3 separate regions of the Homo sapiens genome follow, and regions 1 and 3 are each linked to region 2. Evidence: promoter capture Hi-C in 16 types of primary human blood cells and fetal thymus (Javierre and others, 2016). All regions are on one chromosome and are shown on one strand. Each heading gives the region's core, a stretch centred on a gene start or on the middle of the fragment in contact. The rest is flanking DNA. Distances are from core to core; before and after follow the strand shown.

Evidence for each region. The method cuts DNA at HindIII sites, captures the fragments that hold promoters and counts their contacts. A CHiCAGO score of 5 or more calls a contact.
Region 1: a fragment that was not itself captured here is called in contact with the fragment with the promoter of CAP1 in region 2 in 1 of 17 cell types (neutrophils); the score reaches 6.7 in neutrophils.
Region 3: a contact is called between the fragment with the promoter of CITED4 here and the fragment with the promoter of CAP1 in region 2, in 1 of 17 cell types (neutrophils). The highest score is 5.5, in neutrophils.

Annotation. Positions count from the first base shown.
Region 1 is chr1:40,681,084-40,684,540 of GRCh38, forward strand. It overlaps a transcript of RIMS3 not described here. Among named protein-coding and RNA genes, the nearest start is that of NFYC, 8.9 kb to the right of the region's middle. The HindIII fragment of the contact is 3,074 bases long and covers 387-3,457 here.
Region 2 is chr1:40,039,093-40,042,864 of GRCh38, forward strand. CAP1 (cyclase associated actin cytoskeleton regulatory protein 1) reads left to right here and starts at 1,637. Exons shown (of 13, transcript NM_006367.4): 1 at 1,637-1,709. It overlaps LOC105378669 (a long non-coding RNA gene), which reads right to left and starts at 1,354. Exons shown (of 3, transcript XR_001738013.3): 1 at 1-1,354. RefSeq lists enhancers at 655-1,288, 1,257-1,326, 1,289-1,923, 1,577-1,776, 1,847-1,936. The HindIII fragment of the contact is 17,502 bases long and covers 1-3,772 here.
Region 3 is chr1:40,860,599-40,863,920 of GRCh38, forward strand. CITED4 (Cbp/p300 interacting transactivator with Glu/Asp rich carboxy-terminal domain 4) reads right to left here and starts at 1,765. Exons shown (of 1, transcript NM_133467.3): 1 at 456-1,765. The coding sequence starts at 1,529. The coding sequence ends at 975. LOC124904157 (a long non-coding RNA gene) reads left to right here and starts at 1,786. Exons shown (of 3, transcript XR_007066025.1): 1 at 1,786-2,512. RefSeq lists silencers at 1,552-1,631, 1,792-1,991 and an enhancer at 2,092-2,151. The HindIII fragment of the contact is 10,972 bases long and covers 1-3,322 here.

The DNA of each region.
Region 1 (3,457 bases), core at 674-3,173, 640 kb after region 2:
TCTGTCTACTGGAATATTTCATTTACTCACTTGCTCTAGAGTCTGTATCTTAAAACCAAAAACAAACCAACAAATAAAAACTTCCTCCTTTGGCCCTATTTCAACTCCTGCTTCCTTGAGTCAAACCAGAGTAGATATGGCTGAATGGGACAGGAAGCTGAACAGGGGTGTAGAGGTGAGCTCAGTAGAAGGGATGAGAAGCTTGGCAAGAAGGCAAGTAGTGAGTGTGGAAGGAAGAAGAGAAGGCATCGAAACTGATGTGATTGAATAGAAATCAGAAGTGGATTTTGACCCCAGAACTGCTTTCCTTAAGCCCCTCTCTTGAGCCTCCTTCTGCTCCCTGGCTCCCAAACCTCTGTTGGAGCCTGGACTCTGGAGTTGCGTTAAGCTTAGGTTCAATACCAGTCCTACCATTTCTGAGCTGGGCGACTTTGGAGAAATTACACGTCTTCTTTAAATTTTCTCATCTGAAAAAAAAATTATCACCTGTAAAATTAATCTAATAAAACCTGTCTCATTGAGTTGGTTTAAGGATTAAATGAGATCAACACATTTTAGCTCTTATTATTATCAAGGCCTTCCCCAGGCCATATACAAAACCTTACTCCCTATTTAATAATAATTATCATAGAGATCACTTGTTGAAGAATTCCTCTGTGCCAGGCAAGGACCTGACAAACAGAGTTTCCAGGTCAAAAAAGATTCCCTGGTAGCTTCTCAATACAGGGTTTTCTCCCTCTAATAACTTTTTATTTTATTATTTATTTGAGACTGAGTTTTGCTCTTGTCACTCCGACTGGAGTGCAGTGGTGCCATCTTGGCTCACTGCACCCTCCACCTTCCAGGTTCAAGTGATTTTCCTGCCTCCGCCTCCCAAGTAGCTGGAATTACAGGTGCCCACCACCCCACCCAGCTAATTTTTGTATTTTTAGTTGAGATGGAGTTTCACCATGTTGGCCATGCTGGCCTTGAACTCCTGACCTCAGGTGATCTGCCTGCCTTGGCCTCCTGAAGTACTGGGATTACAGGCATGAGCCACCATGCCTGGCCTCCCTCTAATAACTTAATGAACATTATATTATGGAATGTCTACCATGCACTAGAGAGTGGACTGGCTTACTTTCATTCATTCATTCATTCATTCAATGTTGTTGTTTAGGTACCTATTGTTAATTAAGTACCTATTATGGTACCAGGCACTTACCAGGGGCTGATAGTACCATCATACACTTAGCCCTGAACCTTAAAGGACTTACAGTCTAGCCACAGTGTAAGTGCTATGTAAAGAGGGTATGTATTTGAGGTGTTCTTTCCTTGTGGCTTCCTTGGACTAGGCAACCCCACCTTTGGCTTCACACCCCGTGACTGACCATGGTTCTGATTTTTTTTTTGGCTTGGAACCCCATCTTCAGGACACACTTTTGAGTTCTCGCTCCCCATGTGACCAAGAGGATTAAGAGACGAGGTAACTTTTGCATTCCCATTCTCTCCCTGCCTGGAGTCCCCCTCCAGAGGAAAGGAATTTAGCAGATGTACAAAAGGTAGATGGATAGCTGGTTTGGATTTTAAACAATCACACTTTTAATACTTCTCTGTCTTAATTCACTCATAGTCCCTTAATTGCCAAATCCAGCTGATTCTTTGACCCTTTGCAGATCTTTTTTTTTTTTTTTTTGAGATGGAATCTTGCTCTGTCAACCAGGCTGGAGTGCAGTGGTGTGATCTCGGCTCACTGCAACCTCTGCCTCCCGGGTTCAAGCGATTCTCCTGCCTCAGCCTCCCGAGTAGCTGGGCCTACAAGCACCTACCATCACACCCAGCTAATTTTTGTATTTTTAGTAGAGATAGGGTTTCACCATGTTGGCCAGGCTGGTCTTGAACTCCTGACCTCATGATCTGCCTGCCTTGGCCTCCCAAAGGCATGAGTCACTGTGCCTGGCTGAACTTTTGCAGATCTTTTGTCTCTTTCTCTCTTTGTGGTATTACATACAACTTTCTTTGCATCTTTCACCTCTCTAGCTCAGAGAGGTTAAGTAAATGGAATGGGGACTCGAACTCAGGCTAACTTCAAAGCACATGCTGCAGACAATATTCCATGCTGCTTCCCAAAGTAGACCAATAGTCTAGACCTATGCTGTCTAATATGCAGTCATTCGCTACATGCTATGGTTTGAATGTCCCTCCAAAACTCAAGTTGAAATTTAATTGCTATTTTAACAACGTTGAGAAGTGGAACACTTAAGAGGTGATGAGGTCACGAGGGCTCTGCCCTCATAAATGGATTAATGCATGGGAATGGGTTAGTTATGGAGGGAGTGGACTCCAGATAAAAGGATACGTTTGGCCCCCCTCCCTCTCTCACATGCACACTTCCTCACCATGTGATATCTTCTGCCACGTTATGGTGTGGCAAGAAGGCCCTCACCAGATGTCGAGCAAATGCTGGTGCCATGCTCTTGGGCTTTCCAGCCTCCAGAACCACAACCCAAATACATTTCCTTTGTTTATAAATTACCCAGTCTTTGGTATTTTGTTATAGCAGCAGAAAACTAAGATACTACCTGTAGCTATTTCAATGTAAACAAAATGAAAAATTCAATTTCTTGGTTGCACTAACCATCTTTCAAATGCTCAACAGCTACACGTGGCTAGTGGCTACTGTATTGAACAGCACAGATATAAAGCATTTCTACCACTGCAGAAAGCTCTGTTGGATAGTGTTGGTTAGATAAAGGTTCTGTCCTCTGACCTCTTTACCCTCTTTTCCTTTATTTATTCTCAGGAAGTGGACAGACATTGTTTAGTCTGCCTAATCCTTTACTCCTACTTTTCTGAGAAGTGTTACTCTATCCTCTACCCTCCAGCATACCTTCATTCATAGAGTTACAGTAGATACAACCATGTTTATGCATGACCCTGTCCCCCTTTCCATAATGATACTTGATTCAGTGGTGGACATTTGGCCAAAGCTAGCTCTAACAAGAGCTCTTCCTCCCAGAAATTTGAAATTGAGCCTAAGAATCTAGTCACCTGGATGATTTTTTGAATGGAGGCAACTTGGGACTAATTGGTTACCATGTTTTATATGACATGGATTGGGAAAACTGGTCTTCAGAATGATAAAGCAATGACAAAATGGTTACACATATTGGGGAAAGTTGGATCTAGGTGTTCAAAGGATGTCAGGACTCTGTCTCCCTCTCTGTCTGAATTCTGCCTTCCTCTGTGATGTCTTCATTCTTAGAAAGGCTCTTTCCATGAAGCAAGAATAATGGCTGCCCTCAGTTCCTCATAGCTCAAGATCTCCAGAAGAAAAATCCTGTCTTTCTTATATATTTCAAATCTTTAGAAGGGCTTTTCTTAGCTTAGTTTGGGTGATGTGCCCATCTCTTCAAAAACTGTGATCTGTTTTAGCAAGGTTTCCTAGAAAACAAAGCCGGAAGAAGGGATTAAGTGC
Region 2 (3,772 bases), core at 387-2,886:
TTAAAATATACTATGACTTTTATACCATATTTTTTCATGTTGTCATGTTCTTTTAAACATGCTGGGAGCCATAAAGTTAGGAAGAGGCCCAGTAACCCGTCCAAAGTAACCTGACCAAAGTCTGACCCCTAGTAGAGGGCCTATGCCAGCACTGGAACCCAGTGTCTCCAGATCCAGAGGCATTCACCACCTCAAATCTGCCTCAAATGTCTGCAGTATGGTCTATCACAGGGGCTAATTAAGCTCATGGGATTTAGAGTCAGACAGATGTGTTTCCTTCAAAGTTTCAACAGTTACTTTCTGACCTTGGCAAGTTATTCAGCTTCCTCATTTGAAAACTAGAGGGCATAATGGTACCTACCACCGAGAGTTGCTATTAGGAGTAAATGAAAATACGCTTGAAGAACTCAGCATGGGCCTGGCAAGTAGTCAGCGTGCAGTAAATGGTAGCTGTTATTTTAAGAACTTTATTTGTTGAATGATTGACTCTGGCACATAACGCCTGCATTCAACTTGAAACACGGAGCTGTCACAGTCGTTCAGCTGAAGGGGCGGGAACTGTGGCACTTGCCAATTTTTTCTAGAAATAAATCTTTGTGGGAGGATAATGACCGGTTGGAGAGTGTGAGTCTTGAGGGAACAAAGATCGGATCTCCCGGCCCAAGGAGTACGGAAGCGAAGCCTCCCCTGCGCGCGGCAGCCACCGTGCGTAACCTCCCCTGAACCGAGTAGCAGCCGCCTGAGCCCACCCAGCCCTGGGCGAGGCTGCCTCAGAAGCCGGATTTCAGCAGAGTGGGTGCAGGATCTGCTTTAATTCTGCTCATCTTATTCTCGGGGACCACACCCTGCGCGCCGGGAGGAAGGGCTCCAAAACCACAGGGCGGAGGCTTCCGCGCGGCCCCAGACTTGACCATCTATGGTCACAGAACACACCGACCAAACAGGAAGTGGGGTGAGAGCGGAGGGTTCCCTACCTTCCCAGCCCCGCGACTGCCAGCCGGGCTGGGGCTGACCCACCGCGCCCTCACTGACCCCCACGCCCTGCGCCCAGTCTCCGCAAGTCCTCCCACAACAATGTCCAGACTAATTGCCTTCCCACGTCACAAACGGGGAAACCGAGGTATGCACGCCCAGAGACAGGCGGAGCGTGGCCTCGATCACCACCGAGAGCTGACGGCCGCCCGGATTCCCGCCCTCAGAGAATCCTGGCCCCCAGTCGTTCCAAGACCCTTTACGGACTGCAGCTTAAAGGAACCGGCCTCTGCCATTGAGACCAAACTGACAGAGGAACTGGTCACTCTTCTGTTCTTTCCAGAGAGGAGCTTAGCCAGGGACTTCTGCCCTTCCTGGGCCCGGGCCTCGGGGGCGATTCCGGGTAGGTAAAGCGGAACGAGGGCGTGGCCTCTCTTGTGAGCCCGCCCTCCCCGTGTCGCTCCCGCCTTGAGGGCGGGGCTCTTTCCCAAGTGCCCTCTGTGAGAGCCGGGCCGCTCTCTCCGGGGCGTGGCGAAGAGGGGCGGAGTCACGAGCGGGGCGGTGAGACTTCCTGCCCAGTCGCGGGCCAGCCTAGCGCTTCAGCCGGCGGCTCATTTCCGGTGGGGGCGCCGCGCCCAGTGAGGGCCCGGAAGTGGGTCGCGCGGAGATTGCTGGGCGGTTCTTGCCGGAAGCGGAGAGCGGCTGATCGCAGTCCGGAGGTGAGGCGGAACTCTGAGGTGAGGGTGTGCAGCTTGGTAGGGATTGGGGTCCCTTCCGGGGCCCATCGGCCCCTGGTGGTGTTAATGGCCCTTCTGGCCTACGCGCGTGTCATGAACCCTGCCGAGAGGGCCGGGGCTGAGGCCCTCAGGCCGACCCGGACTCTTGGGCGCGGTCTCTTGAGGTGGGGCCGGGGTGAGCAGCTGAGTCCGGGTGCCCCGGGGAGGCCCCTCTGCCCGATTTCGCAGCGCTGCCCATCAGCTTCAGCGGAGGCCTGATTCCTGAGGTGCTCTGACTGGAAGGAACCTCCGAGATCGGAGAGTCTTCCCTGTCTCCTGTTGATGCTCCCATTGCACTGATAGGTAAATTGATCCCTAGAGAAGAGGCTAGTCTGAGATATATAGCGAGTGAGGAAAAGAATCGGAATCATGATCCTGGTGCCTTAGATAACCAGCCCCAGTTCTTCCCGTGTTGCTCGGAACCTCTCTAACTTGGGATGGTCTTCCGGTCGGTGTTGCCCCGCAGGCTGCTGCAGGTTAAAGGCCAGCGCTGCGTGGAACTTTTTTTTTTCTCTCCTCCCAAATTGAGCCGTTTGAAATGCCTAGGGAGTTTTTAAAAGAAAGGCGGGCACATCCTTGTATTTACAGGCAGATATCCTCCCTTTCCTCCTCGGCTGCTGCTCTTACTTTGACAAGCCAGGCTAACATTGAAGGTATGTACTTCTGGACCTGAAATCAGACGGCTCAGGTTTGGTCTGGCCTCAGTGCTGAGTGTCTGTGGCCATAGGTGCCTTAAACTTCTTTCAGCCTCCTTTTGTTCATCTTTTAAGTGGAGATCTCTGCTGACCCCACAAGATTAAATTCAGCGTAACAAATTGTGTTTATTCTGTGCCAGCATTTTCCCAGATGCGGGGAATGCAGCTTTAAAACAAAACAATGTAGACCCTGCCCGCGTGGAGCTAGCAGTGTTTGCAGGGATGTTTAAGAAGTAATTATAAATGTTGATGAGTGTTAGGAAAGAACAGGGTGCTCTGAAAGTATGTAACAGGGGGTTCAGGAAAAGCCCTTCTGAAGAAGCAGAGTTTTTAAGATGAATTTTGAAGGATAAATAGGAATGCGTTCGAAGAGTGGAATGAGAACATTTGAGACAGGTTAGCATCAGAACTGTGTCAGTTGAAGCTCTTTGTGGGGCTCTCTCTTCAAGAGAAAATCCGGGGGCATATCAGCACATTTATCATTTACCAGACTTTTATTTAATTTATTTATTTGTATTTTTAGTAGAGATGGGGTTTCGCCGTGAAGGCCAGGCTGCTCTCGAACTCCTAACCTCAGGTGATCCCCCCACCTCGGCCTCCCAAAGTGCTGGGATTACGGGCATGATCCACCGTGCCCGGCCCCACCAGACGTTTATTAAGACCTTAATATGTATGAGGCACATTTTAATGAGATAGCCTTTGTGGCAAAGAATACAGTTCTTCTGGAGTTTACAGTGGGAGAGGAAATAGACAAGTAAATGAGGGATGGCTTACAGTGTCATAGTGCATAGCACAGGGCTACAAGAGCACAGTGGAGAAATACCTGAGCCAGGTGCCCAGGGTTCCAGGAGGAAATGGGAGGCTAACTCTTGAAATATTTATTTAGCTACATAGGGAATCCGGAAAAGGGATTTCCAGGCAGAGACTACTACAGGTGCAAGGACCTGGAGAACCGGACAGCTGAAAGACCATGACGAGTTCAGTGTGACTGGAATTCTAGTAATGGCTGGGGAAGTGGAGGAAGTGAGATGTGGTCAGGTCAGTCATATGTGGAGGACATTGTAAGTCATGCTAAGGAATTTGGATTTTTACCCTGAAAGCTATGGAGATGCTTTGAAGGGTTTTATGCAGGAAAATGATGTCGTCAGATTTATATTTCAGAAAGTTCATTCTGTCAAGTAGGAGGGGACCAGCCCTGTGGGGAAGTAAAACAGTGTTTGGAAGCTCTTGCTGTAGACATGGCCTGAACTAAGACAGTGGAAATGGGAATGGAGAGGAGGCATCAGATGTGAGCAATATTAAGAAGATAGAATCCATAGAATTGGAGGC
Region 3 (3,322 bases), core at 515-3,014, 820 kb after region 2:
CACTTACTGAGAACTGCCCAGGTATTTGGCACTGTGCTAAAGGCAGCGTAACTACCTGAGGAGACGGGGACCATCTCCCTCTGGGAAACCGCCTCAAAAATCAGAACGGATGGTGTCTTGGGCAAAGGAGAGAGTCAGGGTCCAAAGCTAGGCTGTCTGAACTCGGTGCCACCCAGCTCCTCTCTGGCAGAGCACCAAGCTCCCCCCACCCTACCCTAGGAGCTGGGAAGCCCAGTGGGTTACCCCACCACCCAGTGGCAGCCTCTGCCCTCCAGGTTGTGACATAACAATTGCACAACCCACGAGATATTTTTGAAAGAAACTGTCGGTTTCCTCTCCTGGGCACTGCTGGGGACTGTGGCCCCCATGCCATCCAGTGTCTTCAGCAACCTTGGGACTTTGGAAGCTAAATATAGTCAGGGCTCGGGGTGATAAGGAAATGAAAACGGCAAGACTGTAAAGTGACCCAGTTTTATTTTGGTTTTGGAGGCCAGACAGGGCATTGCTCCACGGGTTCGGGCTGTACAACCTTCCCCTCCTTGAGGTGGGAGGCCCAGCAACCACAGGGCCCAGGCAGCGGGGTGGGAGGCTCAGGAGATGGTGGCTCTGGGGACCCGATCCCGAGGAGAGAGGGGGCAGCAGGCAGAGGCCTGCAATGGCTCAGATTGGGGGAAGAGGGCGGCGAGGGGGAGAGGACACGATCCAAGAACCAGAGTCCGAAAGCTGAAGCTGGTCCGGTCTCTTTCACTTTACGGCCGAGGCTGGGGTCAGAGAAGTGAAGCCAAACTGTCCTCCCGCAGGAGGCAAGGCCTGGAGGGACGCCAGGGTCCCAGTCCGGTGCCGGGCCCTGCGCACACAGCCGCCGCCTCCACCCTCGCGGAGGGCGCGCGCGGGGCCCAGTCGCTGGGTGCAGGGTCCGGCGGGCAGTCGGGCCCTTTCTCCTCTCCGGCACGCCGGGCGGGCGCCGGCCGCCCTCAGCAGCTCACGGAGCCGGCGGGCGGCGCGGACCCCAAGTCCGAGAAGCAGTCGAACTCGCTCTGGCCCAGGAAGAGCTCGGGCAGCTCGCGCACGCGGTGCAGCCCGAGCTCCAGCTCCAGCGACGTCAGCGCCTCCTCGTCGATGAGTTCGGCGTCCATGCCGCCCAGGGCGTGCGCGGGCGGCGGCGGGGCTGCGGCGCTTGGCGCCGGCTGCGGGCCCGGGGGGCCTCCCGGAGCGTTGGGGGGCGCGGCCGCGCGGCCGGGGTACGGCGTCGCCACAGGCTGCAGGTGCGCGATGCCCGCGGCCGGCGGAGGCACGGCCGGAAAGGGCTGGAAGGAGGACGGCGGCCCGAAGGCCCCGTACGCCAGGGCCCCGGGTTGGCGGGGCGGCGGCGGCCCCAGCGGAGCCCCCCGCGGCCTCAGCCCACTGTCCAGGCCCGGGCCCGCGTACGGCGGCAGAGTCCGGAGCGCATGAGGGCCATGGGCGGCCGCGGCGGACGGCGGCCTCTGCACCAGGCGGTAGCCCTCGGCGAGCATCAGGTGGTCGGCCATGGCGGCAGGCCGGCTGCCTGCGGGGACAGCGCGCGGTGGTCAGCGCCGGCTCCCCCGGCCCGGGCCAGCGGCTGCTCTGCGGCGGGAGACCCGGGCACCGTGCGGTCCCTGCAGCTCGGCCGGGCGGAGCAAAACCAAACCCGACTGGTGCCCCGGCCCAGCCCACTACTGCGCACCTTGCGGCCGCAGCCTGGGGTCACAAAGGCCCGCAACCTGTAGTGCTCCGAAACCTCCGCGTCGCGTAGCTGGGCTCGGCGTATTCTTATACCCAGAGGCGGGGCTTCCCCGCCCTCGGACGCTCATTGGCTGGGCGAGACGCTTCTGGGCGGGCCGCGCACGCCTGCATCTAGGTCTTGGCCCCGCCCCTCCCACTGGAACCCCGCCCCTTGGGACTCCGGCCACGCCCCAGGCTCTGAGCACCGCCCTGGGGCGGGGTATTTGGCACTTTCGGAGGGATTCGGTCTGGCCCTCAGGGCTTCGGAATCGGACTTGGCTGGGGTAGAGCTTGAACTGACCAGAAGGTGGGGTGGGAGGGCCAGAGTTTTAGGCCCCCCAAGAGCTGCAGGATGTCAGGCCTACGCAACCTTTTAACTTTCCAGGTAGAGACCGAGGCTCAGTGGCGGAAGAGGCTTCCTGGAAATACACAGCAAAGCCTTGATCAAAGTGAGACTGCACAGCTACACAGGGCGCATGCACCTTAGCGGTGCAGGGTCCCCGCAGGAGGTCAGCTGTCCATTCCCATAACCCCCAGGAGAGCCTGTTGCTCCCCCTCTAGTTCCCACTGCACCTTGTCTGTTGAAGCATGTACTTAGTTGTTATTAATTTATGGGCACGTCTCCTGAAGGACTTGTTCATCTTCTTCTTCTCAGCACTTGGCCCAGAGCCTGGCCCAGAGCAGGCTTTTAGTAAAAGCTGAGTGAATGAACTAATGATGGAATGAATTGCAACTCTCAGCTGAGCCTCAGTTTCTTCATCTGTAAAAGGTAAAGAACAGCAGCACTGACCCTTTGTGAGGGGTAAGTGAGGGCATGTGTGCACAGTGCCTAGCACAGTGCCTGGTATGTGGTAGATGCTCAAAAGTGTCCCTTAGATGAAAGAAAGGCTATTTAAGTTCTTTTTTTTTTTTTTTTTGAGACGGAGTCTCGCTCTTTCGCCCAGGCTGGACTGCAGTGGCGCTGTCTTGGCTCACTGCAAGCTCCGCCTCCCGGGTTCACGCCATTCTCCTGCCTCAGTCTCCCGAGTAGCTGGGACTACAGGCGCCCGCTACCACGCCCGGCTAATTTTTTTTGTATTTTTAGTAGAGACGGGGTTTCACCGTGTTAGCCAGGATGGTCTCGATCTGCTGACCTCGTGATCCGCCCGCCTCGGCCTCCCAAAGTGCTGGAATTACAGGCGTGAGCCACCGCGCCCGGCCAAGGCTATTTAAGTTCTGTCCCAAAGGGCCTTCTCTTGATAACAGCAATAATAACTTGGACTTTTAAAGTGCTTTACATTCTACAAGTATTTTGTTGGGGGCAGGGCATGGATTATCAGCCCCATTTCAGTGATAAGGAGAAGCACACAAAGAGAAAGTGGCTGTCCTGAGGTCACAGGCAGCCAGAGTTAGCGTGTGAATGCCATGTGTTTTCCAAGTCCTTAGGGCAACTGGAGTCTTTCCTGTGGCCAGGAGACAGCCTCCCAGAACCTTACCCTCCACGCATTTGACACTCTCTCTCCCTTCTCTGACCTTCCCCCGACCTGTGGCATCCTTGGGACTTCCTGGAACTTGGGTTTATCCAGTTGATGTAGAGGGG